2 separate regions of the Homo sapiens genome follow, and region 1 is linked to region 2. The links are contacts of gene promoters, found by promoter capture Hi-C in human tissues and cell types (Jung and others, 2019). All regions are on one chromosome and are shown on one strand. Each heading gives the region's core, a stretch centred on a gene start or on the middle of the fragment in contact. The rest is flanking DNA. Distances are from core to core; before and after follow the strand shown. Region 1 overlaps ACBD3 (acyl-CoA binding domain containing 3). Region 2 holds the start of LIN9 (lin-9 DREAM MuvB core complex component).

What was found. Contacts are between HindIII fragments. The study calls those that stand out against the background at their distance.
Region 1: a contact is called between a fragment that was not itself captured here and the fragment with the promoter of LIN9 in region 2, in 1 of the 25 tissues and cell types used here (hippocampus).

Annotation. Positions count from the first base shown.
Region 1 is chr1:226,161,620-226,168,068 of GRCh38, reverse strand. ACBD3 (acyl-CoA binding domain containing 3) reads left to right here. Exons shown (of 8, transcript NM_022735.4): 2 at 2,069-2,210; 3 at 3,140-3,280; 4 at 6,380-6,449. Among named protein-coding and RNA genes, the nearest start is that of ACBD3-AS1, 17 kb to the right of the region's middle. RefSeq lists an enhancer at 4,047-4,216. The HindIII fragment of the contact is 3,778 bases long and covers 2,056-5,833 here.
Region 2 is chr1:226,307,229-226,313,528 of GRCh38, reverse strand. LIN9 (lin-9 DREAM MuvB core complex component) reads left to right here and starts at 4,365. Exons shown (of 15, transcript NM_001366245.2): 1 at 4,365-4,420. The coding sequence starts at 4,390. RefSeq lists silencers at 4,013-4,262, 4,683-4,912 and an enhancer at 4,466-5,232. The HindIII fragment of the contact is 7,036 bases long and covers 2,741-6,300 here.

The sequences.
Region 1 (6,449 bases), core at 2,695-5,194, 150 kb after region 2:
ATTATCTGCAGTCTTAAACATCCACTGGGGGATAAGATAAGGACTATTGTGTATTGCCAAATTGACCTTCAAGGTAACTATAACAGTTTATACTTTCAGCATTCATATATGAGAATGGGTACCTGTTTGTAGGATCTTAATAACTTTAGATGTTATCTAACTTTTTTGTTTATCTGATGGGAGGTGGGGGTCTTGGTATCTAATGCTTTTAATTTATATTTCTTGACTAGTGGGGTTGAATATCTTTTTGGATGTTTATTGGCAGCTTCTATATTTTTTCTTCTCTGAGTTTCCTGCTGTTCTTTAACCCATATTCTTCTCACTTATTAGTGATTTTATTTCACCACTATATACATGAATGAGACATATAAGTAGCATATGCTACTTTCAAGTGCCCTCCCCGTTTTCTTTAAATTTGGTAGTCTGTTGTCATTGGAATCAACCAGTAGTTAGTGCTACCATTTATCAAAGAAGTGGAACTGTTCTCTGAATATTTCCCATTTTACCAGAACCCAATTTCATACGGCTTTTAAATGTTGGTAGCAGTTAGTCTTTATTGGTCAAACTGGTCGCACTCTTAATTGCCTATATGGAAACCTACCAGAGCCAATCAGGTGAAGGAAAGAAAAGCATTAATAAGTTAGTAATAATAATAATCCTATTACCTCTGAAGTAGCAACCTCTGAAGGGTAACCCTTTCTTTATTGATGAATAAACTGAGAGGTTAAATAGTCACATAGCTAGGAAGTGTCTCAGCTGAGATTTAAACCCAGGCCATCCAATTCCAAAGCCTTTTCCACCACATTATACTACCTTAGTGGGATGGATACATTTTTGAATACAGCCTTTCAAAGTGTACATAATCTTCTATGCATGATCATGTTAAAAGGGACTAATGTAAAATTATTTTAAGTTTTTCTTTTCTCTTTTGGCTAAAAATTATTTTTAAAAGCTATTTTAAAAACCGATTGTTGGGCTGGGCATGGTGGCTCACACCTGTAATCCCAGCACTTTGGGAGGCTGAGGCAGGAGGATTGCTTGAACCCAGGGTTCAAGACCAGTCTGGGCAACATTGTAAGACATCGTCTCTGCAAAAAGTAAAAAATTAACCAGATGTGGTGGCACATGCCTGTAGTCCCAGCTTCTCGGGAGGCTGAGGCAGAAGGATTGCTTAAGCCTGGGAGGTCAAGGCTGTAGCCTGACTGCAGCTTGACAGATGGGTTTTTCTGTAGTAGCTTTAGCATAAGTATTGATAGTTGGCTTATTTTTACAACCTAATTCAGGGTAGGCATGGTGGTCCACACTTGTAATGCCAGCACTTTGGGATACTGAGACGGGAGAATCACTTGAGCTCAGGAGTCCGAGACCAGCCTGGGCAACATAGTGAGACCTTGTCTCTACAAAAATAAAAACATTTTCCACGTATGATGGCGCATACTCCTGTAGTCCCAGGTAGTTGGGTGACTGAGGTGGGAGGATCACTTAAGCTCAGCAGGTTGAGGCTGCAGTGAGCTGTGATTGTGCCACTGCATTCCAGCCTGGGCAATAGAGCGAGACCTTGTCTCAAAAAAAAAAAAAAAAAAATCAGCATACCGGATTTCCGTCTTAGGTTCTGTTATTAATAAAATGTAGTAATTGGGCTGGGCATGCTGGCTCAAATCCCAGCAGTTTTGAAAAGGAGGCCAAGACGAGAGGCTTGCTTGAGCCCAAAAGTTCGAGACCAGCCTGGGCAGCCCTGTCTCTGCCAAAAGACAGGTTTGGTGGCACGCACGTGTAGTCCAGCTACTTGGGGGGCTGAGGTGGGAGGGTCATTTGAGTCCCGGAGGTCAAGGCTTCAGTGAGCCTTCATCACACCATTGCACTCCAGCCTGGGCAACAGAGTGAGACTCTGTCTAAAAATAAAAAAATTTTTTAAAAGTAGTAATTGAAATAAAAATTTCACTATTAGTGTTTGTGTCTATTACAGGCAGTTTGTGACATGCTTTGTAGCAAAGCTTTAGTATATAATGCTGAAAATTATGTATTTTGCCTGTGCTAATTGTTTTCTTTGTGTTTCTTTTTCTTATAGAAAAAGATGGCAAAGCATTTCATCCAACTTATGAAGAAAAATTGAAGCTTGTGGCACTGCATAAGCAAGTTCTTATGGGCCCATATAATCCAGACACTTGTCCTGAGGTTGGATTCTTTGATGTGTTGGGGAATGACAGGAGGTAACAGTGTTTTTCTGTATAGTGAATTTAATGAGGATAATGTTGGCAAAGGGTACAATGTGTATTGGTTAAGGTGTAAGTAGCTGGTTCATTAGCTTAGGATAAGAACTGAACATTTTTGCTTGCAGCTTCTGGAGTCTTCAGATATTTATCTGTTTTTAGCTTAGAGATGTTTATGGTTAAATATTGTGGAAGAACTGTATTCATCTGCTTATGAACATAAGACAAGTAGAGCTTCATTTGATTCTTCCCAAATAATATTAAAAGTAGCCATTTAAAATATATAGTAATTGATTCCCTTATTGAGGCATAAAAAAAATTGTGACAAAAAAAGAATACATTGAGTATTTTTGTTTAATTAAGGCTCAAATATTATATAAGAAAAATAGGCCAGGTGCGGCAGTTCATGCCTGTAATCCCGGCACTTTGGGAGGCCGAGGTGGGTAGATCATTTGAGGTCAGGAGTTCAAGACCAGCCTGGCCAACATAGTAAAACCCCATCTCTACTAAAAATTAAAAAATTAGCCGGCGGTAGTGGCACATGCCTGTAATCCTACCTACTCGGGAGGCTGAAGCAGGAGAATCGCTTGAGCCTGGGAGGCAGAGGTTCTGCTGAGCCAAGATCGCACCAGTGCACTCCAGTCTGGGCAACAGAGTGAGATCCTATCTCAAAAAAAAAAAGAAAAAAGAAAAATTGATACTCTTTTGCTATATGGGAATCATCAGCAATGCAGTTGTTTGGATTGTATGTGGCGTATCTAATTTAGTAAATCAATACATACTTGTTAAAACTTGAAGTTTTGAGCCTTTTGCTCCCAATAGAATCATTCATTTTACTTACAATTGAGAATTATTCATATTTAGGTTTAAATTTAAAAGTTCTCATTCTACTAAGAAGGGGAGGTAACTTTTCTTGTTATTCCTTACAGGAGAGAATGGGCAGCCCTGGGAAACATGTCTAAAGAGGATGCCATGGTGGAGTTTGTCAAGCTCTTAAATAGGTGTTGCCATCTCTTTTCAACATATGTTGCGTCCCACAAAATAGAGAAGGAAGAGCAAGAAAAAAAAAGGTGAAGTTTGAGGGCATGGAATACTTTATTGCTGCGCAGCCCAGTGTACTGATGCTTTTGTTTTGTAGAGTGTCTGTTCTAGTTCTAGATCAGGTGTCTTGCTTTCCTTGGATCCCCATTTCTTGTGGCAATTGTTCAAACTTCCTGATGTGAACAGGTACTTGTATTATAAGTTTTGGGGGGAGGGAGGACTGCTTCCTACTGGCCGTGCCTTTAAAAGGAACCTCCCATCCATCATGGCAGCCTTCCTTTTGTTTTATTACACTAAGTTTCTGAATAAGCCCCACCATAAACTCAACCACTCCCTCCTCCCTATCCTCTGGTCTGACATACCCTTTGTTGCAGTCTCCCTCGAGCTTCTAGAATCCTCATGCTCCATTTCATGGTTTGCAACTATGCTACCTTATATAGACATTCATGTTGGCTTTGGCTTCCAGCTGGCTTATTGATTATTTTCAAGTTTTGGAGGAGGAGCTACTGAATGTGCTGTTTATGCTTATGGGATTCTCTGTTGTAGTTGTGAATTAGAATTATAGTTACACCTTATTTTTCTAGTGGCTATATTTTCATCAATTTTGACTATCTAAAATTTTAGGTGATGAAAATGATGCTACAAAACCAATTTTTCTTCAGGTTATGTTATACTTTTTTTTTTTTTTTTTTTTTTTTTTTAAGATGGAGTCTTGCTCTGTTGCTATTGCTCAGGCCGGAGTGCAGTGACACAATCCTCTGCCTCCTGGGTTCAAGCAGTTCTCCTGCCTCAGCCTCCCGAGTAGCTGGGAGAGGGATTACAGGTGCCTGCCACCAACCCAGCTAATTTTTGTGTTTTTAGTAGAGATGAGGTTTTACTATGTTGGCCAGGCTGGTCTCAAACTCCTGACCTCAGGTGATCCACCCGCCTGGTCCTCCCAAAGTGCTGGGATTACAGGCATGAGCCACCTTGCCCAGCCGATGTTATTCTTTAAAAACAATTGATTCTCTGGTTTCCTACCTTAACCTGGATTAGAAATAACAGATTAGAAGAGAAAATAGCTTGATAATTAGGGACATAATAGAAAGCATGAAAAATAGACACGAGAATTATAAAAGCATGGCAGTCAGGGGTCATTTAATATGAAGGTAAACTTCTCCATTACAATAGTATGATGTACAATTTTTATGTTTACAGCTGTAACCCCTGAGTTATCAAGAGATGGAACATTAGATATGATTTATTCCTATTTAAGATAATAGGAAATTGCTTGATTACATTTTCAGAAGATATTTATCCAAAGAAATTTTTTTTTTTAATCTAAAGGAAAGGTTTTGATTCTTATGAGAAAAGAATGAGATTTCTTTAACTGGAAAATTGATTTATGTCCTACAGTCCATTGTGTAGTGATGTTGGATCAATCAGGTATCGCTAGGGTGTCTGTAGAAGTATCTATATATTGCTTTTTAAGTTCTTATTTTAATGATATATATGCATATTTCTCTTAAGCATTGTCAAAAGTTACTACTCAACATATAGAGCTGCGTTTTCGTTTTAAAAATATACTTTTGTCATGGGATAAAGTCCACATAGAATTATTTTAAAGTGTTTAAGAGTAGACTTCATCTATCCTGAAGCTTAAGCTCTGGCTTGTGAACCTTCTTGCTCTGTACCAGCTGTGACACATTAAAAGTAGGTCATGGCCGGGTGCAGTGGCTCACGCCTGTGGTGGCTCACATCTGTAATCTCAGCACTTGGGGAGAACGAGGCGGGCAGATCACTTGAGTCCAAGAGTTCAGGACCAGCCTGGGCAACGTGGCAAAACCCCATCTCTACAAAAAAAAAATACAAAAATTAGCCGGATGTGGTTACAGGTCCCTGTAATTCCAGCTACTCAGGAGGCTAAGGTGGGAGGATCATTTGAGCCTGGGAGGCGGAGGTTGCAGTGAGCCAAGAATGTGCCACTGCACTCCAGTCTGGGTGACAGAGTGAGACCCTGTCTCAAAAAAAAAAAAAAAATAGGTCATGTTATTACAATATTTTGAGACTTGGCTGTGGCTCAGGTAGTTGTTAATCACTTATAGGAGTTAGAGGGGAGAAAGGTGAGGTAGCCCAGACAATTCTCGTGGTAGGTTTATGAAATAGTGTCTTATCTGATACTCCTTAGAAATCTTCCCTTTCATCCTGTCTGCAGGCTCCCTGAACACCATACCACTCTCAGACCCGGAAGATGTCCATTCCTAGCACAATAGGATCTGTTCTTTTTGGAAGGGTCTTGTGGGGTGGGTGAAAGCTGGGCAAGGGCTGCCCTGAGAGGTTAACCGTTCTTTTTTAAATTAAAAGCTTTACAAAAAATTTTAATTTCAGAAATAATACACAAATATATGCAATATAAAATTTTCATTTATGGCAGTATATGAAACACAAACTGAAAAAAATCTTTTTTCCCACATTTCTTTTAATTCCACTCTCCTCTGCATAGATAATAACTGATAAATTTAGGGTATGTCCTTCCAGATCTTTTCCTTTGTATTCACCTTTTTTTTTTTCATTAAGCAAGTGTATTACATGTCTTTACATATTAGGCAATGTATTTCTATCCTTTGGCTCTGCGATATTTCAGGGTGGATTTTTTACTTCTGTACACGTTTGTCGAGTGCTTGTTCTTTCCAGCACTGTGCTAAGCCCTGAGGATGTCGTGGTGTGAGATAGGCAGTCTCTTCCCCTATGGAGCATCTAGTTTAATGGGTAATGCAGATCTATTGCTGAATGTATCACACAAATTTAATTATAATGACAGCAGGTATTATGAAGGAAAAGCTTTTAGTGCTGTGAGCATATATTAGAGGGGATCCTTCAGGGTATAGGAATATCATAATGACTTAAGTAGTTTCTTATGATGGACACATTTCTGTTGCTGTGCAACAATAATTATTCTTGATGTGATTTGTATATTGTGCGATTGATTCCCTATAAGTTTCTGCTAGTAAAGTGTATGTATTTTAAATTTTGATGTATATATCCACATTGTTCTCTAAAAAGGTCATGTCAGTTTTCCCTGGGAGCTAAAGTTTTATTTTTAAACAGGATTCAACGTATAGGGTTCATTCTCTATCTTTGCCTTGTAGGAAGGAGGAAGAGGAGCGAAGGCGGCGTGAAGAGGAAGAAAGAGAACGTCTGCAAAAGGAGGAAGAGAAA
Region 2 (6,300 bases), core at 3,116-5,615:
CTGCTCTCACTCCTCACGCCTGTTTCCACTGCTCTGAACATGTTCAGGGAGATGATTCTGAAGGGAATTACCAGGATGGCCACTGGGCACATTTTTGAGAATATTTATGTTGTAAAAGAGGGATTCTCATCAAGGAAGGATACCAACAGTCACTGGAGATCTTGGTAGGCACTTAATTTACAATATGTAATTTAATCTTCATGATAACCCTTCAAGAAAGGGAGAAGAAAACTAAAAACTACTACTGAGAGTAATTTGTTCAAGAATACACACAAGGGAAGTAGGTGAACTGCAATTTGAACCTAGATCCTGGGGCCATCAGTACTCCTGGTGTACTTGGATGCTGGAAGAGGAAATGCTGAGTGTGGAGTCCTACCAGCAACATAACTTAAAAATATATATATTTATAGGCTGGAGAGCCTTTTTACCTCATTATGGCTGAGATACTCAAGCAAGGCAAACTGAATTGTCTTTGTTTTTTCATTACTAACTCAAATTCCCAACTTTATCAAAAGTATTTATAAAAACATTCACACACATACTATACACACACACGCTTTTTTTTTTTTTTTTTTTTTTTTTGAGACGGAGTCTCACCCTGTCACCCAGGCTGGAGTGCAGTGGTGTGATCTCAGCTCACTGCAGTCTTCACCTCCTAGGTTCAAGCAATTCTCCTGCCTCAGCCTTCCAAGTAGCTTGAATTACAGGCACAAGCCACCACGCCTGGCTAGTTTTGTATTTTTAGTAGAGACTGGGTTTCACCATGTTGGTCAGGCTGGTCTCAAACCCCTGATCTCAGGTGCTCAGGCGATCCACCTGCCTCAGCCTCCCAAAGTGCTGGGATTACAGGTGTGAGCCACTGCACCAGGCCCCCAACACACACATTTTATCTTTAGTCATTGCAACTGTTTTCACAAAAATAATCCAACCCAATAATTGATAAATAGGCCACAGGACTAGAAATGGTCAAACCTGGTATTTCTAAAACGTGGCCATGTTTATTTTTCTTATGGTATTTTTAAAATTTTTTAGAATTTTTGTGGGTACATAGTAGGTGGATATATTTATGATGGTACATGAGATGTTTCTTATGGTGTATTTTTATTTAGGTTTTTCATGACTTAATGACCTTATCCACACCGTGGTTTGTTTTTTTTAAAAAGCAAACACCACACACAGTCATGTCATTTTAAATTGGAATAAGTGATTGCAGGAAACTTAATACCCCTGTGTTGCATGTTGCTATGGTTTGAATGATGGTATTCCCTCCAAAATTCAGTTGTAACATAATCCCCAATGCAACAGTATTAAGTGGTGTGGCCTCTGGGAGGTGATTAAGTCATGAGGGTTCTGCTCTCGTGAATGGGGTTAGCACCCTTATGAAAGGGCTCAAGACTGAAGGAGGTGTTCTCTTGCCTTTCTGTCCCTTCTACCATGTGAGGACACAGCATGCATCCCCTCCAGAGGATGGAGCAACGAGCCACCATCTTGGAAACAGAGAGCTGCCCTCACCAGACACCAACATTGGCACCTTGATCTTGGACTTCCCAGCGTTTGAAACTGTGAGAAATAAATTCTTGTTGTCGGCTGGGCACGGTGGCTCATGCCTGTAATCCCAGCACTTTGGGAGGCTGAGGCAGGTAGATCACTTGAGATCAGGAGTTCAAGACCAGCCTGGCCAAACTGGTGAAACCCTGTCTCTACTAAGAACACAAAAATTAGCCAGGAGTGGTGGCAGGCACCTGTAATCCCAGCTACTCTGGAGGCAGAGGCAGGAGAATCGCTTGAACCCAGGAGGCAGAGGTTGCAGTGAGCCGAGATCACACCATTGTACTCCAGCGTGGGTGACAAGAGCAAAACTCCATCTCAAAAAAAAAAAAAAAAATTCTTGTTGTCTATAAATTACCCAGTCTCAGATGTTTTGTTATAGCAGCACAAATGGACAAAGACATACGTGTAATCCTCCCATCACAGAGGGAGTCACTGAGGCACCGAAAAGTGGGCTAGATTCCTGATTCTAGCACTTGCTTGCCATTGTCTTTGGACAAATTACCAGGTTGTTGGGAGAATCAAGTAAGCCAATCATTGTAAAACCTGTCATAAATATTCAATAACGAAACTTATTGAAGAGTTAGGTGTGCCTTGGCTTCGATCACACAGCTAAGCGCTAGATCTGGGGCTAGGATACAGCTTCAGGCTTTGGATTTATGAGAAGAGTCAAAGTTTTTGTTTAAAATGCAGATTATCAGGCAAGGGCCTAAAAACATTGATTTAAACAGTAGTTGTGTTGTTGCGTGTACATGAAAACTGCCTCAGAATAAAACCAGGTTTGCCTTGGTCTAATGACACCTTGACTATCATGACATTCACAAAGCTTTTGCTTCTCCCACTCTGGTAACCTCTCATGTTTTTTTAATTTCTATTCTTCCATTCTTAAAGGGCTGACCTTTTCTTGATCTCATCTCCAAATTGATACTGAAGTGCAAGCTGCTGAAGCACCCCCTAGGTGCTGACAACAAGGACCAGTGTTTTAATCTTCTTAGGGAGCAGATCAGAGTGTGTTTAGAAGGCAAAGGAGAGGTTAAGCTAGCTCTGAAGGAAGGATTACTTTGTAAAATTGAACTTTCACCCTCCCTGCTCACTCCCTGCTCTCCCTCCTACCTTAGCATGGCAGCACCCAGTTACCCAAGGCACAGAGCTGGCATCAGCAATGAGACTTCCTTCTCCTCACACCCAGTGACTCACCCAATCCTTTATTTTCCACGTCTTGAAAGGTGGAGTGCATGCTGCCACCTCTCTCTAATACTGCCTATGCTGTGGTAATGGTGGTAATAGTGGCTAGCTGATGGGTGCTAGCAGCTAGTATAAGGTCCTTACATCTATCAAATCGTTTAGCCCTCAAAATAACCCTGTTATTTGCATTTTACAGATAAGAAACTGAGGCACAGAGAATTCGGTTAAGAAACCAACGTGCCTGAGATTATACAACTAGCAGCCCATCTGGATTCTTCCCATCGAGGCCCTGGGGCTCCAGAGCCCACCCGCTGCACCTCTCTAGCTACCAGTGCAGGCATCTCTCTTCTGTCCTTTGCATGCCCCAAATAAGCTTCTTCCTGACTGGTTTCTAGGCTCTCATCTTGTCCCCCACCAATCCATTTCCCATATTTTTGTTCTAAAACACAAATAGAAACGTGCCCCTCTTACACCCGACTTTTCCACTGCTCCAGTGGACTAAGCAAGTTCAACTCCTTAGCCTGGGCGGGCCTCTGTGTACCACTCTGTCACCTTAGTCTACCGCCTTTTAACTTTGTAGTTCCTGGAATTCACCCACGTTGTCTTTTGACTGCTTAACGGTCTCATTCCTCCAACCCCCATAAATTCCTGGAGAAAAGGATTGGAGCTCAATGACATTCGTTAAATGAATTTTTGAAAAGCAACAGTGTTTTATTACTGGAAAGTGTTACAGACAGATATTGTGAAATTTTTCCTTGGGCTTCTTTCAATTTCGTTCAATTCTCGTCCAGTATTCTCATAACATTTGGATCAGGTACTTTATCACCTTGTAGTGTCACTGTTCCTTTCTGTATCCTCTCGAAGCCTCCTGTTACTCGTTTTCTAATTCTCTTCCAGCCCACTGCACGATCTAGTGTCGAATGGATGAAACAGCTGAGCAGAACAGTTCTTTAGCTGTCGGCCTAAATGACCAACTTCATGACCTCTCAAGGTCTCGCTCCCCGGCTGCACGCAGCTCAGCTTCCAACATTCGGGAAAGGCGTGCCCGGATCGCGAGGGGCCGCTGGGACCGAGTCCCGGACGTCGCGACGCGCAGGGGGCTGCTGCGGCCGGCGGTCTCGGGAAAAGTGAGGGGACGGAGGCGCCCAAGCAACGTGGGTTTCGGGAACTGTGAGTATTTCACTTTGCGTAGAGCCCCCTCGGGCAATGCGACCCAGAACCGAGGGCTTCTTTCCCCCCGCCGGGGCCTCCCTCCCGTTCTCCACTCGGAACAAACAGCCTGCAGTTCCCGCAGCTGCAGCGCGGGCCGCGGAACATGCGCCGGGAGCGGGGCCCGGGCGGGACTCCGGAGCTGGTACTGCTCCCCCCGCGCTCCGGCGCCGGGCCTCGCCGTGCGGCCTCCTTCCTCCCTTCCTCCCGCCCGGCTCGGCCGGAGGCGGCGGCGGAGGGGCGAGGCGCGGCCCCCCTTCGGCGGCACCTCCTCCCCGGGCAGGCGCGGGCGGAGCCGGGCCCGCCTCAGCCAGCCGCGGCGGGAGCAGCGCAGCGCGGCGCCGCGGGCAGCGAGCTCCGCATTCGAACCTCCCTCGCAAAGACAGTCTCCGCCCCACAATGCACCGCGGCGGGCAGCCTTTGAAAAAGCGGCGCGGCTCGTTCAAGATGGCGGAGCTCGACCAGTTGCCTGACGAGAGTGAGTAGCACCTCAAAGCACCCCCCCCTTTTCCCGCCTGCTGCTTGCCCAGCGGTTGCACCGGCCGGGACGGACGGCCGTGCCCTCCGCTGGGCAGGTGGGCTGACTGCCAGCCCCACTGTGGTCCCCTAGTCCTCCCACTCCGGTGTTGCCGCCGCGTCGCCGCCTTTGTTATGGTGTCTGTGTGTTGGTTTCTGGGGTTGTGTGAGCGCCAGGGCCGGAAACCGAGAGCCCGGGAGTCCAGCCTGTGCCAGGCGGAGGCGGTGGCTGCTCCCCTGGCGCCACTCCGGCCCCCAGCCGAGGTGGAGGGAAGAGCGGCCCCTGGGCGCGGGGGCTGTCCTCGCCGCCTGCACCACTCGCCCGGCGCCGAGAGACGCCCGCCGGGGTTATGTAACTCGCCTGTCCCGGGGCCGGGGGAGGGCTCGGGCTGGGCACGGGGTGGTCCACGGCCCCTTCTTCTTGCCCCAGCCTCTGATCTTGTCCTGTCACAGCTCCTGCCTCTACGGGCACTTGTGATCTTCACTGTCCTCCCCACCCCCCCACCGGTGTGTCCACCCCTGGAAGTGTTTCCGTGTCAGAGGGTTGGCCCCTTCCCCTGGGACCACAGGTGGCTGTGGACCTTTCCTGAGATCATCCAGCCCGGATACTCAGTGTTCAGGTAGACCCCGTCCCGCAGACTTTATTCTATATGTGTCTTAAGAGCCATAAAGGTACCTTTATGCATGGATGTGACCAACACAGCGTACGTGTACCCTGCCTGACACCCACCCTAGGGCATTGCCTCCCCTAACCATGTTTACTCACCCTGACATCTAAGACATGTATGCTCACTTGTGTTGAGTAAGTAAAAGCACCAATTCCATAGTTTAAGGGCAATGGAACTTAATTTTGTAATTTACAATATTGCATAAATTATATGAAAAGACAAATATGTTATTTAATTACAAAAAAAAGTCCTGAATCCACTTTCACTATTCAGTTTATACATATTTGTGAAAGGCTCAATTACTATTGAATCTTATCTATGCACAAGGCAAATGGACTTAAAAATGAGGACTCAACATACTACCGATTCCATTTTCTTTGTGAGGTCATGTGTTCTTAGTAAGTTATAAAGTTAAAAATTCAAGTTGCCAAGCTGGTGAAAAGTCGTATTAAAAGTGTTTGTGTTTTAAATTTGATAGAGAGCAGCACTAAGTCCCCAAGGAACTTTGTCCATGATAGAACTGTTCTCTTTTGTGATGTCCAGTAGGGCAGCCAAGCTACTAGCCATATGTAGCCATGGAACATTTCAAATGTGGCTAGAGTGATGGAGGAACTGAATTTTGAATTTTATTTAATTTTAACTTGCATAGTCACATGTAGCTAGTAGTCACTGTATTGGGTAGGGCACAGCTATTGACCAGTCATGAGCTGTACTGTTTATTTGTAGAATACAATTGATTGTGATTTATTTTATTTATTTATTTATTTTGAGATGGAGTTTCACTCATTGCCCAGGCTGGGGTGCAATGGTACTATCTCGGCTCATTGCAACCTCTGCCTCCCAGGTTCAAGCGATTCTCCTACCTCAGCCTCCCGAATAGCTGGGGTTACAGGCATGTGCCACCACGCCTGCCTAATTTTTTTGTATTTTTAGTAGAGATGGGGGTTTCTCCATGTTGGTCAGGCTGGTCTCGAACTCCCGACCTCAGGTGATCCACCCGCCTCGGCCTCCCAAAGTGCTGGGATTACAGGCGTGAGCCACCGCAGCTGGTCTTGATTGTGACTTAGAATGCTCCCAAATGAGTGTGGACCTACTAAGCACAGTGTACTTGTCATCCGAAAATGTTTTTCATCATCCTTGGTATCTTTATCATAAACATGTCTTATCACCTCTT